Regions from separate parts of the Homo sapiens genome. Here regions 2 and 3 are each linked to region 1. Evidence: promoter capture Hi-C in 16 types of primary human blood cells and fetal thymus (Javierre and others, 2016). All regions are on one chromosome and are shown on one strand. Each heading gives the region's core, a stretch centred on a gene start or on the middle of the fragment in contact. The rest is flanking DNA. Distances are from core to core; before and after follow the strand shown.

Region 1 (4,122 bases), core at 954-3,453:
GTGATCCGCCCGCCTCGGCCTCCCAAAGTGAGTAAGCATTATTTTTATTTGCTGTGATAATAGTACTGTAGTTATGTTAAAAAGAGTCCTTATCTTTTAGAGGTAAATAATTGAAATATTTACATATGAAATGACATGGTATCTGGGATTTGCTTCAAAATACACAGTATGTATGAGCATAAGGCAAGACTGGCCATGAATTGATAACTTTAATCTGGGTGCTGGTTACATGGGGGCTCATTATATACTTCTCTTAATTGCCATATATGCTCCTTCTCTATAAAACTTATCATATTCTAAATAGCAAAAACAGTATGTTACTATTATTTCCACTTCACTTGCTCTCCAGTGGGTATGTAAAGAGGGAAAATAAAAAAGGAAATGGTTGTAACAAACGTAGCCACCTAAAGCCAGGAAGGACAGGGCCAGTACCATAAGATCCATACACTCAACACATGAATCAAGTAGGGATTGTTTTTAAAAGGGATGCTATAAGCTACTTTTTTAAAAATCAACTTTATTGAAGTATAATTTACGTGATAAATGTATACATTTGTCCATCTCAATCTTTATTGAGATGTATAACTTTTCTATCCACATCTCTGCTAACATTTGGTATTATCAGCCTTTTGGATTTTAGCTATTCTAGTGGGTGTATAGTGCCTCGTTGTAATTTTAATCTGCATTTTCCTGAGAATAATGTTTAACATTTGTGCTAAATTTTGATTATACATATACATATTTTTCAATTGTAACAATGTAATAATCTCTGGCAAATATCTTTATTATAACTTTTATTTCTGTATTTCTATATTATTTTATGAGGAATATTATACAATTTGAACACTACAAGCCACAGAAAATGATCAGTTTATGGAACTAAGTCCGACTTCCAGGTAAAACGTAACTATGGTATGGTATTTACAGTTTGTGTTGACTAAAATAAGCTCCCGGCTGCCAGATGGAGCTATAAGGTTGCCACCTCTACTGCCACCATCTGGTAACATTAAAAACAAATAAAAATATAGAAACTATACAATTCTGGGTTAGCCAAAGTCAAATTTCCAACACAACTCTTTCTCACGCACAGATCTTTGAAACTATAGAATGCATTCAAACTGATTTGTTCTTTAGTTTTCGTTACTTTTAAATAAACTATATTACAAAAGTGTCAAATAGCAAAATATTTTAATTTTCTCAAATTCAGGGAAGATGCTTTATGACGTACCTGCTTTTCGATTTGTTCCAAGACCTTTGGCAAATTACTTTAGAACTCCATAGGTATCTTGAGGATAACTGAACCTTTTCCTAACTTAAATCATAGACTGCCAGACGGAAAAAAAATGTCCTCGATGTTTTTAGTCTCTTACTGCACAATGTCAAGATATCAGCTGGGTTATACAATAGTTGCCCTCTGCATACTCACAAATGTTAACTCCAGTCCTTTTTTGTCTTCCCTCCCCGCCTAAGAAGCTACCAGGTCACATGCTGGCGGATACGCAGTGGCGGAAACCTAGCGGTGACAGGGAAGGACAGCCCTCTGCCTACTGATCTGCAGGTTTCTCCTCCAGTTTGCTCTTACACCGGGGTCCTCCGCTCGGACCTTAGCCCATTCATTTGATGATTCTCTCCCAGTTCGTTCTTCCACTGGGTCCCTTGCTCAGCACTACCCAAAATAACCACCAGCTCAGCGCCGGCTGCACCGCCGCTCCCCCGCCCCCGCCCCCGCCCCCGCCCCCGCCCGGTGGGGCTGCACCTGCCGAGGCCCCGGCTCGGCTCCGCGATCACGGTCGCGGCCCCCGGGGTTCCCGAGGGGCTTCTGCGCACCGAGGCAGGCGGGACTGAGCGGCACTCTGAACGGGCTCCCCTCTTAATGTCCCCTCGCGCCTGAGCAGCTCCGGTCCCGCCGGCGCAGGGTGCGGGTACCCGGGCCATGCCGGCCCAGAGACCGCCGCCCCCGGTACCGCTGCCCACTCGAAGCCCCTGGACGACCCCGCCGCTTACCGGCTTCGGCCCGTGGGGCGCCCGGTAGAAGAGGCGTGCGGTCCGTGCTCTCCTCGCCATCGTTCCGGGCCAGGTCTCGAACCGGAGACCTCATGACGCCTACGTGAGCAGGTGTACTCGCCACCTGGCAGAGAAGGGAGCGCCGGCCCGACAGCCCGAAGCCCCCGGGCCGAGCTGGCTGGACCGGGCGGGGCGGGGGCGATGACACCGCCCCGCGGCCACGTCTAGTCCCCGCGGTCCCGCCCAGAGGCGGCCGCGCCGACTCCGCCCCCGCCGCCATCTTAGGTGTGGGCAACTCTGGCTTGGGTTGGACTAGGGAAGCGGAGTTCTGGGAGTTCTCGTAGGATTGGCGCAAAGTGAGCCCGCTCCGCCCGCCGGTCTACGCATGCCGGGGAGCCGGTGTTCGGACGACCGTCTCCCGCTCCTGCACCCCCTTGTAAAGTGCAGGGGCCACCCTGCCCGCAGCGAGGATGAGTGGGGGCTTGCGGGCGGGCAGTGGGGACTTGAATTGCACATAATTAAGGGGAGGGCTTCGACCGAACTAGGGAAGTGGGTGGTGTGCATTTCACAACTTGACATTCGCTTGTTAGCGGTCAGTTGCCATACTGTTAGCAACCTTTGTACGATCTACCTCGTGACTGTGGCGGCATATTTACCTCGTGACTGTGGCGGCATATTGTCCCTAAAATAGCTTTTTTTTTTTTTTTTTTTTCTCCCAGGCAGGGTCTTGCTCTGTTGCCCAAGCTGGAATGCAGTGGCGCAATCGCAGCTCACTGCAACCTCCAACTCCTGGACTCAAGCGATTCTCTTCAGCTCCCCCAAGTAGCTGGGACTACAGGAGCATGCCACCACATCTGGCTAATTTTGTTTCTACTTTTTATTTTTGTAGAGGCTTGGTCTTATTATATTGCCCAAGCTGGTTTCGAACTCCTGGGCTCAAGCAATCCTCCTCGGCCTCCCAAAGTGCTGGGATTACAGGCGTGAGCCACTGCTCCTGGTCCTAAAATAGCTTTTAGGCGGAAAAACAGCAATGGAAATTTGTTGAGTCCTATGATGTTGCTGGTTTTATAGGTAAAAGTAATCAACATAGGTAGTTTCATATGGTTCGACCTATGGAATCCTCTGATGTATGTGTGCATGCTTTATCTCCACGATAGAATTTGGATAGATTGTGCTAGCATTTGCGGACTCTGAAAGTGAAACTAGGAAAACCCAGCTTGCCTTGGCAGGGCAGATCTGGATCCGCCAATAAAGGCTGTCTCTGTGGAGGTAGAAAATAAGATGTAGATGCTCTCGGAGAGTTTGGTGTAGACAGGGAAGACCCACAAGCCACTAATTCAGTAAACCAGGTTAGAAGCTTAGTGAGGTTCACGTGAGAACAAAGGGGAGGGTCCTTTACCTAGAAGGGAGGGCGAGGATTTCTGTAGGCATCCCTACCTCCAGATCAGTAAATGCTAGAAAAGTTCTCAAGTTAAAGCAGCAAATCAAGCCTTGTTTCTGAGTTACTGAATTACCATGTAGATTTTTACACTCTCTAAGGGTTGTAGAAAAATGCAATTTTCAAACTGGATTATGCAGAGTCACCTGGCAAATCCTTTTAAAATGTAGATTCAGATTCAGCAGATCTGGTGTGATGGTTAATTTTATGTGTTAACTTGCTGGTTGTCTTTGGATGAGGTTAACACTAAAATCATTGAACTCTGGGTAAAGATGGCTGCCTTCCATAATCTGGGTGGGCTTCCTTCAATCAGTTGAAGGCCTATCTAGAATAAAAAATCCGACTCCCCCACTTCTCTTGCCCAAGCAAGGGAGACTTCTCCAGCAGAGTGTCCTCAGACTTCATCTGCACCACAGGTCCTCCTGGGTCTCCAGGCATGTGCACCATCATCTGTTTTGGGTCGAGTTGGCCAGCCTATATTGTGAAAGCCAAAACTTTATTACCCAAACTACCCAATTGGGGCTGTTTCTCTGAGAAGCCCAGTACATCTGGGATGTGCCTGAGATTCTGTATTGCTAACAAGCTCCCAGATGACCAAGGTTATAGATAACTTGGGCCAGGGAATATAGTTGCAACAGACTTGAAAGACTTCAAACCAGAGGAATTCTTTTTTTTAATAT
Region 2 (4,122 bases), core at 778-3,277, 1.3 Mb before region 1:
AAGCAGTGCTGTGAAGAAAAATAAAGCACAGCAAAGGGATACTATACAAAGCCTCCCTGAGGAGACAGCCTGTCTTGAAGCAGAAATCTGAATAAGGAGCAAGGCAAGAAAGTCAGAAGAGACAAACAGAAGTAAAAAAGGCCCAGAAGCAGCATGCTTGCAGGCTTGAGGAAATGCAGGGAAGACAGTGTGACTGGAGAGCATTGATCATATGGAATGAGGGGCAGAAGATGAGATGTGAGGTGTCCAAGGACCAGATGATATGGCATTTCCTGGGCCACGATAACAATTTTGGATTTTCATTTTACTTTGGTGATTAATCATTATAAGATCTTGAGCAGGGGAATGATATATTCAGATTTACATTTTTAAAGACTCACCATGGCTGTTATGTCAAGAATATTCTGAGGAGGAAAGGAATAGAAGCAGTGACACTAGCTGTACGGGTATGGCACTGCTCTTTTGAGTGATGATAGTGTCTGGACATAGGGTTGGAGCTGTGGAGAGGAAGAAGAATGACCAGACTTGTGATGCATTTTGAAGGCAAAGCCAAGAGGATTCGCTGATGGATTGGGTGTGGGGTGTGTTAGAGGAATCAAAGATGATTACAAGGATTTAGGCCTTATCACCCAAGTGAATTGTAGTACCATTTACTGTGGGAGGAGGATTTAGTAGTGGGAGGTGGTAGTGTGGTGGAGGTGGGGAAGAGTTCTGTCTTGGATATGTTAATGTTGAAGTGCCTATCAGATCTGTAAATGGAGCTACTAGGCAATTGGATTAATGACTTCAGCATTTATGGGAAAGGTTAAGACCTTGATGTATATTTGGGAGGCACAAGGGCATAGGTGGCTTTGTTAGCTATGTTAAAGCTATGTTAGAGATCACCTAGGAAGTAAGTGTAGAAGAAAGCAAAAGGTCTGAGGCCTGAGGTCTAGGGATTGTCTATTTCTAAAAATCTCAAAGAGGAAAAATCCAGCAGAAGAGACTGGGAAGTAACAACCAATGTCAAAGAAGGAAAAACGGAGAATGTGGATCACAGTAGCCAAGTGAAGAAGCTTGTATAGGTATAAAGAAAAAATAGTTCCCAAATTACTAACCATTGTCTTCCTTGAGTGGTGAAATTATAGGGGGCATTCAATGTTGGCAATTTCTGTAACATTTAAATATTTTGTAATATACATATATTGTCTTTGTAAGCAAAAATAGCAATAAAAAGGTTAAGAACAATAAAAAATAAAAATTTTAATGAACATACTAAATGTGTAGGAAGGATCAGCATTAAGTTCATATAGCATAACCTATTATATCTTTGATTAGACAATTTACAAAAGGAATCCAGTGACCAAAAATGAGAGGGAAAAAATGCAGTGTTTCAAATGGCTTATCTAAGAGTGTATTTAGGTACCTGCTTTGTAAAGGTTTTATGTGGATTGAAAAGTTAATGTGTTTATATAGTAGTTATGTATGTAATTATGTATATAGAGCATTTTTCATATATTATTAATGGGTATTATATGATACTATACAGAAACTAAAGCGAAAACCAGAAATTTATATAGGACGTATAGATGGAATAAAGTCTAACAGTTTTCCTAACCTATTGATACTGCTTATACATGTAAGCAAGTAAATATTTTAGAATTTATTTCCATGCTATGAATAGAATGCTGGTTAGTGCATTTCAAAGTGGCTCAAGAAAATTCCTCTGAGCTTATCAAGAACTGAAATGCAAATGTATGTAATTCCCAGTACAAATGGAGGTGTACACCCCAAACTGCCAGTCAGAACTCATGCAGCTGAGTCAAAAGGCCATGAGGTAGCTGTGTAGTCTTTGAATTAAGATAAAACCTGTTACACCTAACTCCATAATCTATATGGAGTAGAAATAAGTATAAATATTATATAGTGTATGTTAAAGTGCTGCAAAAATCATCAATTAAAATACTAGTTTCTCTTCATGAGGATTGCTGATACGTGACAGTAAAACTGTGGTATTTTTCAAACTGGGTTCCAAATGCACCTTCTCCTTAAAAGAACACGACCTGTCCTTTGGGACTATTCATACACATTTAGTGAATTCCGTATTAGGAGAAACCTATTAGATTGTTCACCATTATCTTTCCACAGAACAGTTGGGTGCCAAATTCAGATTTTCATTGAAGTTGTCACCATCAATAATACAATGATTTCATTTTGGCTGATTGAGATTTAGGCAGTCACTGAAACTGTGGCCATGGCATAGCATCCAGTGGTACTCCCCTTAGCCAAGCATACTTTGGCAAGGAGCCTGAATCAAGCAAAGTACTCCCTTAGGTTACTATTTTTCTGATTAAATTTGTAATTATGTGTAAAATTAACTATTGTATTTGCAGGATCAATTGATATTCAGGAGTAAACTGTCTAAATAAAACTTAGAGTTTCTTTTACTCTCTCCTGTCAGAGTCGGGCCACAAAAAGTTAAAAAGTACCATCCAGAGAAGCACAGAAACAGGCATGGCAGCTGAAATGAGAAAGATGGTAAGGCAGCCGAGCCGAGAGTCTACTGATGGCAGCATCAACAGTTACAGCTCTGAGGGCAAGTAAGTGCTGTCAGCACGTCTGCATGGCTGTGGAACCAGGAATTGTGTACTAATCAGTAAGATAACAAAGCCACTGAGTGTTACTGTGCAGCTTCTCTATTTAATCAGAAGTTCAACCATCCATTTTAAACCACCCTGATGGCTTATAAGTAAGTACACATGGACACACCTCTACACCTGGTCATTCATACCTTTCAAAGGGTGAAGAAATTCTGAGTCCACATGAACAAATTGATTTCTTGCATCTAGGAAAGCCCAGACTAGTTCCTTACTGGATGTTTAGTGTACAAATGCCACAGGTAATGGACTCTTTCATATGGGAAACTCATAGTCTGTCCCTGTCACCAAAGTCCAAGTTAAAATTTATAAGTAAGGAACTGATTTCCCATTTTCTTAATTTTCTCCAAGCTATTTTGGACCCTAAGCTTTTCTAAGTCTAACACTGTCATATATGTAAGTTACATTTTCTTGTTTTTAAAACATTGCTGACTCATTTTTACCTTAGGAAATAATCCAGGGTCTATCAGCTTCATTATTTTTCTGACTAAAATGTTTTAGTTAATTCTGAAAAAATAGAATACGATTTTTAAAAATTTACTCTTTTCGATTCTTTTTCTTTTTTTTTTTTTTTTACCATTTCATATGGATCCTGCACAAAACCTGCTTCTTCCTATGCTTGAGAATATTTCTGGTAAAATTGAATTTTTATTGAGGTAGTGGATCTTACAAATAAGTAATTAATGTGTTGTTTTGGATTACATGGAGATTCACCACATATAAATTTTCCATAATTATTTGTTCATTACCATTCACATTACTCATATACCAATTTGATATTTCTAATTTCTTGTCTTTACTGGAATTTTTCTATATTGTTTAGAAAATTTAACAGAATTATGCCAAGTTACTGTTTGTGATATTCCTTCCCATTCCTGAAACTAGTTGGTCTCTGTTTAGTTGGTCAAATGATTGGCTTGTTATGCATGTTTCCAGTAAGGAATATAAGAACAAAAATCAGCAGGTATGAAAGTTACAGAGATAAACTTACTGACAAAATACCCATATTTGATGAAGTAGCATAAAGTAATATACAAATGAGACTTGAACACATCATTTTCTGATATAAAAAAGTAACAAATAAAATTTGCCTCCATCATAAACCATTTAATCTCTTGGATTTATTTTCATGGTCTCTGGATGGGATTATAATCTGTGTCCCATTTAATTTCCTTGGTTAAAAGAAATAATAGATGTGAAAGCACAATGGAAAGAGTAAGTCTCTATAGAAATATGCTCATTCAAAAAATGCTTATTGAATGCCTATCACATAATGAGCATAGTTGTCATTACCCAGTGATAACTACATCAGTCAACAAGAAGAGAACAGGCACTGCCCTTGTGCAGCTTACATCCTGGGGCTATCAGGAAGTTGTATTATAGGAAGAAATACAGATTTTTTAACCAATTAATTTCCATTGGAACCAAATAAAAGTCTCAAATAATTCATCTTTGAATCAATTAAATGTTTATAAATAAGAACTTG
Region 3 (3,479 bases), core at 980-3,479, 1.0 Mb before region 1:
GTCTCAGAAGAGCCCTCAAAACCCTGAACCAATTAGCCATTTATTTGTTCTCTGGATTTTTTGCTGCCTCTTTCATTTCTATCCTATAGTAGAAGCAGGAAGTTATGTTCATTTTTAGGTATACAAAAATACTGTTATTATTTTAACCTTCTAGAATATTGCAAAGTCTGACATGCTTACTTACCTGTTGACTTTCCCTGGTTTTGTATACATTGAAAGATTTTACTTTAAGTGGAAAAATGTTTTCCATATGAACATCTAGCATCATTTCCCCAGGTGTATTATAAAAACTAAAATTCTAAATATAGAAATAAATGGTACGTAGACCAACAAATATCACCAAATGGCAGCAAGCAACACTTCCCACCTCAATACCTTCAAAGGCTGACCTAAAAAGTTTGTTTAAAGCAGGGTTTCTCAACTTTGGCAATATTGACGTTTTGGGCAGGATAATTCCTTTTTTGTGGGGAGCTATCCTGTAAGTTGTAGAATGTTTAGCAGCATCCCCGGCCTCTACAACCTGGATGCCAGTAGCAACAGTTTCCCACACCCTCCCCCATACTATGTACTAAGCCAACCAGAAACACCACCGGACATTGCAAATATCATCTGCGGGGCAAAATTACCGCTGTTGTAAAGAAGTAGCTCCAGATGAATAAATGTTTATAAAACATATTAGTTGGTTTGGGGTTGTCAAGTTTTAGGTAATCTTTCTATCATTCCATGTTATGTATTTAAGTCTGCTCTAAAAATATTTTAAATCTTTCGAAAAAATACAGTAAACTATGGCATGAATTAGGTAGGGATAATGTTTGTTCTACAGTTTTAACATAGGTGGTAGGAACTCAGCAGTTGTAGGTTGGATTGAGGAATGGATAAATTAAAACAATTCTCATTAAGGGAATGAGATAGGGGTTTGGTCTAAACTCAAGCATGATTAGTCATGACCCAGCTAGCCACTGCAGAACTGAACACTGACAGCCCAGGCAAGGGGTCCAGGCAAGGGCTGGGGAGAATGGCCTCAGCATCAGGTGTGGGCAGGAAATAGTCTGCTAGGCAGAAGAGTGTATTCTTTTTTGTAGAATTATGCACTAGCAGGTTATTCAATGTGTATAACACAGAAATGCTGGAGCCAAGATGACATCCAGAGGTTCAGTAGGTAGGCAGGCAGGCAATTGACATTGTGGAAGTAGGTAAACCTGTAACAGGACCCTAGTCACCATTTTAAGATATGGGTCAAGACTTCAATTCCTGAGAGATGACTGAAACAAAAATGAGTATATCCCATGATAGTGTACTGTTAGGCGGCAGAGATAAAGCCTTAAGCATAGAGATGACTTTAGTATATTTTCCAGAATTGAGGTTCTGGCTGTACTCATAGTCTTCCCTTGTACTGCATGAGTAGATTCATGGCAGTTTGTATGCTTTAGTGGGCAATATTTTAAAGCTTAGATTGCAATTATATTAATACATATATATGTGTTTATATATGCACTCACTAAACTACACATACATGCATGCTCTTGGCTTTAAAATATTCAAACTCTGCCAGGTGCCATGGCTCACACCTGTAATCCCAGAATTTTGGGAGGCCAAGGGAGGAGGAGTTCAAGACAAGCCTGGGCAACATAGTGAGATGCCGATTCTACAAAAAATGAAGGAAAAAAAAAAAGCTAGATGTGGTGGCTTGACACTGTAGTCCCAGCTACTCAGGAGGCTGAGGTGGGAAGATTGCTTGAGACCAGGAGTTCAAGGCTGCAGTGAGCTATGATCACAGCACTGCACTCCAAATTGTGCAACAGAGTGAGACCCTGAGACCCTGTCTCTAAAATAAAAAATAAAAAATAAAAAGTATCCAAACTCTGGAAGATTAATTTGGAATAGAAACACCATTATTCTGAGTAAATGTGATCCCATAATATAACCATATGAAAAATGTAATGAGAGTTCAAGGCTGTTTTCTAACAGAAAGACCTATAACAAAGATCCAAAATCTCAGTTCAAGGGCTTTATAGTGACCACAAACCTTGCTGTCCTAGTACCTCCCTGATAGAAGTGTCATCAAGGTACTCCCAACCAAATCATGAGAAATAATGCAGATTACCAGGGAGGTCGAGGAAGTTCTAGCTATTCCAAATTTTCCCATATATCCCATATAAGTCATCCTGAAGATATCCTCAAGAGAATCTTTGTAAAATTCATTCCTTTGGCTGGGCGTGGTGGTTCATGCCTGTAATCCCAGCACTTTGGGAGGCTGAGGTAGGCAGATCACGAGGTCAGGAGTTTGAGACCAGCCCGGCTGATATAGTGAAACGCTGTCTCTAAAATACAAAAATTAGCCGGGTTTGGTGGTGCGTGCCTGTAGTCCCAGCTACTCAGGAGGCTGAGGCAGGAGAATCGCTTGAAACGTGGAGGTTGCAGTGAGCCAAGATTGCACCACTGCACTCCAGCCTGGGCAACAGAATGAGACTCCATCTCAAAAAGTTTAAAAAAACAACTCATTCCTTTAAGAATTACAGCCCAAGGGCCCATAATCTGGGATTGATTAGCTAGGTTTTTAAAAATTATTTCCAAGAGTCTGTGAGCCTCAAAAGTTGTAATTGTATGCAAAATTATACGTTTTTTAAAACTTTTTTGAAGGCTTTCATCAAATTCTCAGACCTCTGCCGTTCAGAAAAACTTTAGAATCATAAATTCACAGATATTCTAGAATAATGAATTCAACAGCTCTCACCAGACATCTGAAATATCACAGATATTTTAGAATGAAAGGATTAAATATCCATTACCATTTGAATATTGCTGTTAAAAGTAGAATGATATGCAAAACTCTATACATTAAGGTTTACTTTGTTTAGTTGTATCTAGTAGCCCTTAATAAAATATACATCTATGACTGCATAGCCTGGTACACTATGAGACATAGTTGCTTTCATCTGCTTTTAAACTTCACAAATAGTCACCTGAACGAGATCATCTGCAAAACTTAAAGTTTCTCTTCTGGGTTATCTCAAGCTTTATTCATATAATCCATTTTTTTTTACAAGTTTACATTACTTTTTTTTTTGTATCTGCTAAATTTCAGCTAAATATTAACAATTATGGAAGCTAATGTTTCAGAGAATTAATCAGCTATTATTTCAAATTGCAGGCTAAATCACAAATGGAACCCAAGCTAAATCTTGTTATACATAAATATTAGTAGTAGTTAACATTTACTGAGTACTTATTATGTGTCAGCACTAAGATAAGACCTTTACATAAACTATTTTAGCTACCCCAAAAGTCCTGTGATAAGGATATTATTATCCTCACTTTAAACATGAAAGAAACAAAGACTTAGTGAGATTTGGTAATCAGCCAGGAATCAGGATCCCACAATTCATAAGTTTCTTTATGACTCCAAATCCTTAGCATATTTTAAAATATATTTAAATATGTATTAGTATTTATTGCTCCACTTTCGATTTTTCGATTTT

Evidence for each region. The method cuts DNA at HindIII sites, captures the fragments that hold promoters and counts their contacts. A CHiCAGO score of 5 or more calls a contact.
Region 2: a contact is called between a fragment that was not itself captured here and the fragment with the promoter of SLC17A5 in region 1, in 1 of 17 cell types (total B cells). The highest score is 5.5, in total B cells.
Region 3: a fragment that was not itself captured here is called in contact with the fragment with the promoter of SLC17A5 in region 1 in 1 of 17 cell types (naive CD8 T cells); the score reaches 5.8 in naive CD8 T cells.

What each region holds. Positions count from the first base shown.
Region 1 is chr6:73,651,789-73,655,910 of GRCh38, forward strand. SLC17A5 (solute carrier family 17 member 5) reads right to left here and starts at 2,204. Exons shown (of 11, transcript NM_012434.5): 1 at 2,005-2,204. The coding sequence starts at 2,098. RefSeq lists a silencer at 1,650-2,319 and an enhancer at 3,319-3,408. The HindIII fragment of the contact is 4,556 bases long and covers 1-3,359 here.
Region 2 is chr6:72,388,158-72,392,279 of GRCh38, forward strand. RIMS1 (regulating synaptic membrane exocytosis 1) reads left to right here. Exons shown (of 34, transcript NM_014989.7): 30 at 2,441-2,579. Among named protein-coding and RNA genes, the nearest start is that of KCNQ5, 230 kb to the right of the region's middle. RefSeq lists a silencer at 2,557-2,757. The HindIII fragment of the contact is 1,949 bases long and covers 1,054-3,002 here.
Region 3 is chr6:72,609,658-72,613,136 of GRCh38, forward strand. No RefSeq gene overlaps it. Among named protein-coding and RNA genes, the nearest start is that of KCNQ5, 11 kb to the right of the region's middle. The HindIII fragment of the contact is 1,568 bases long and covers 1,446-3,013 here.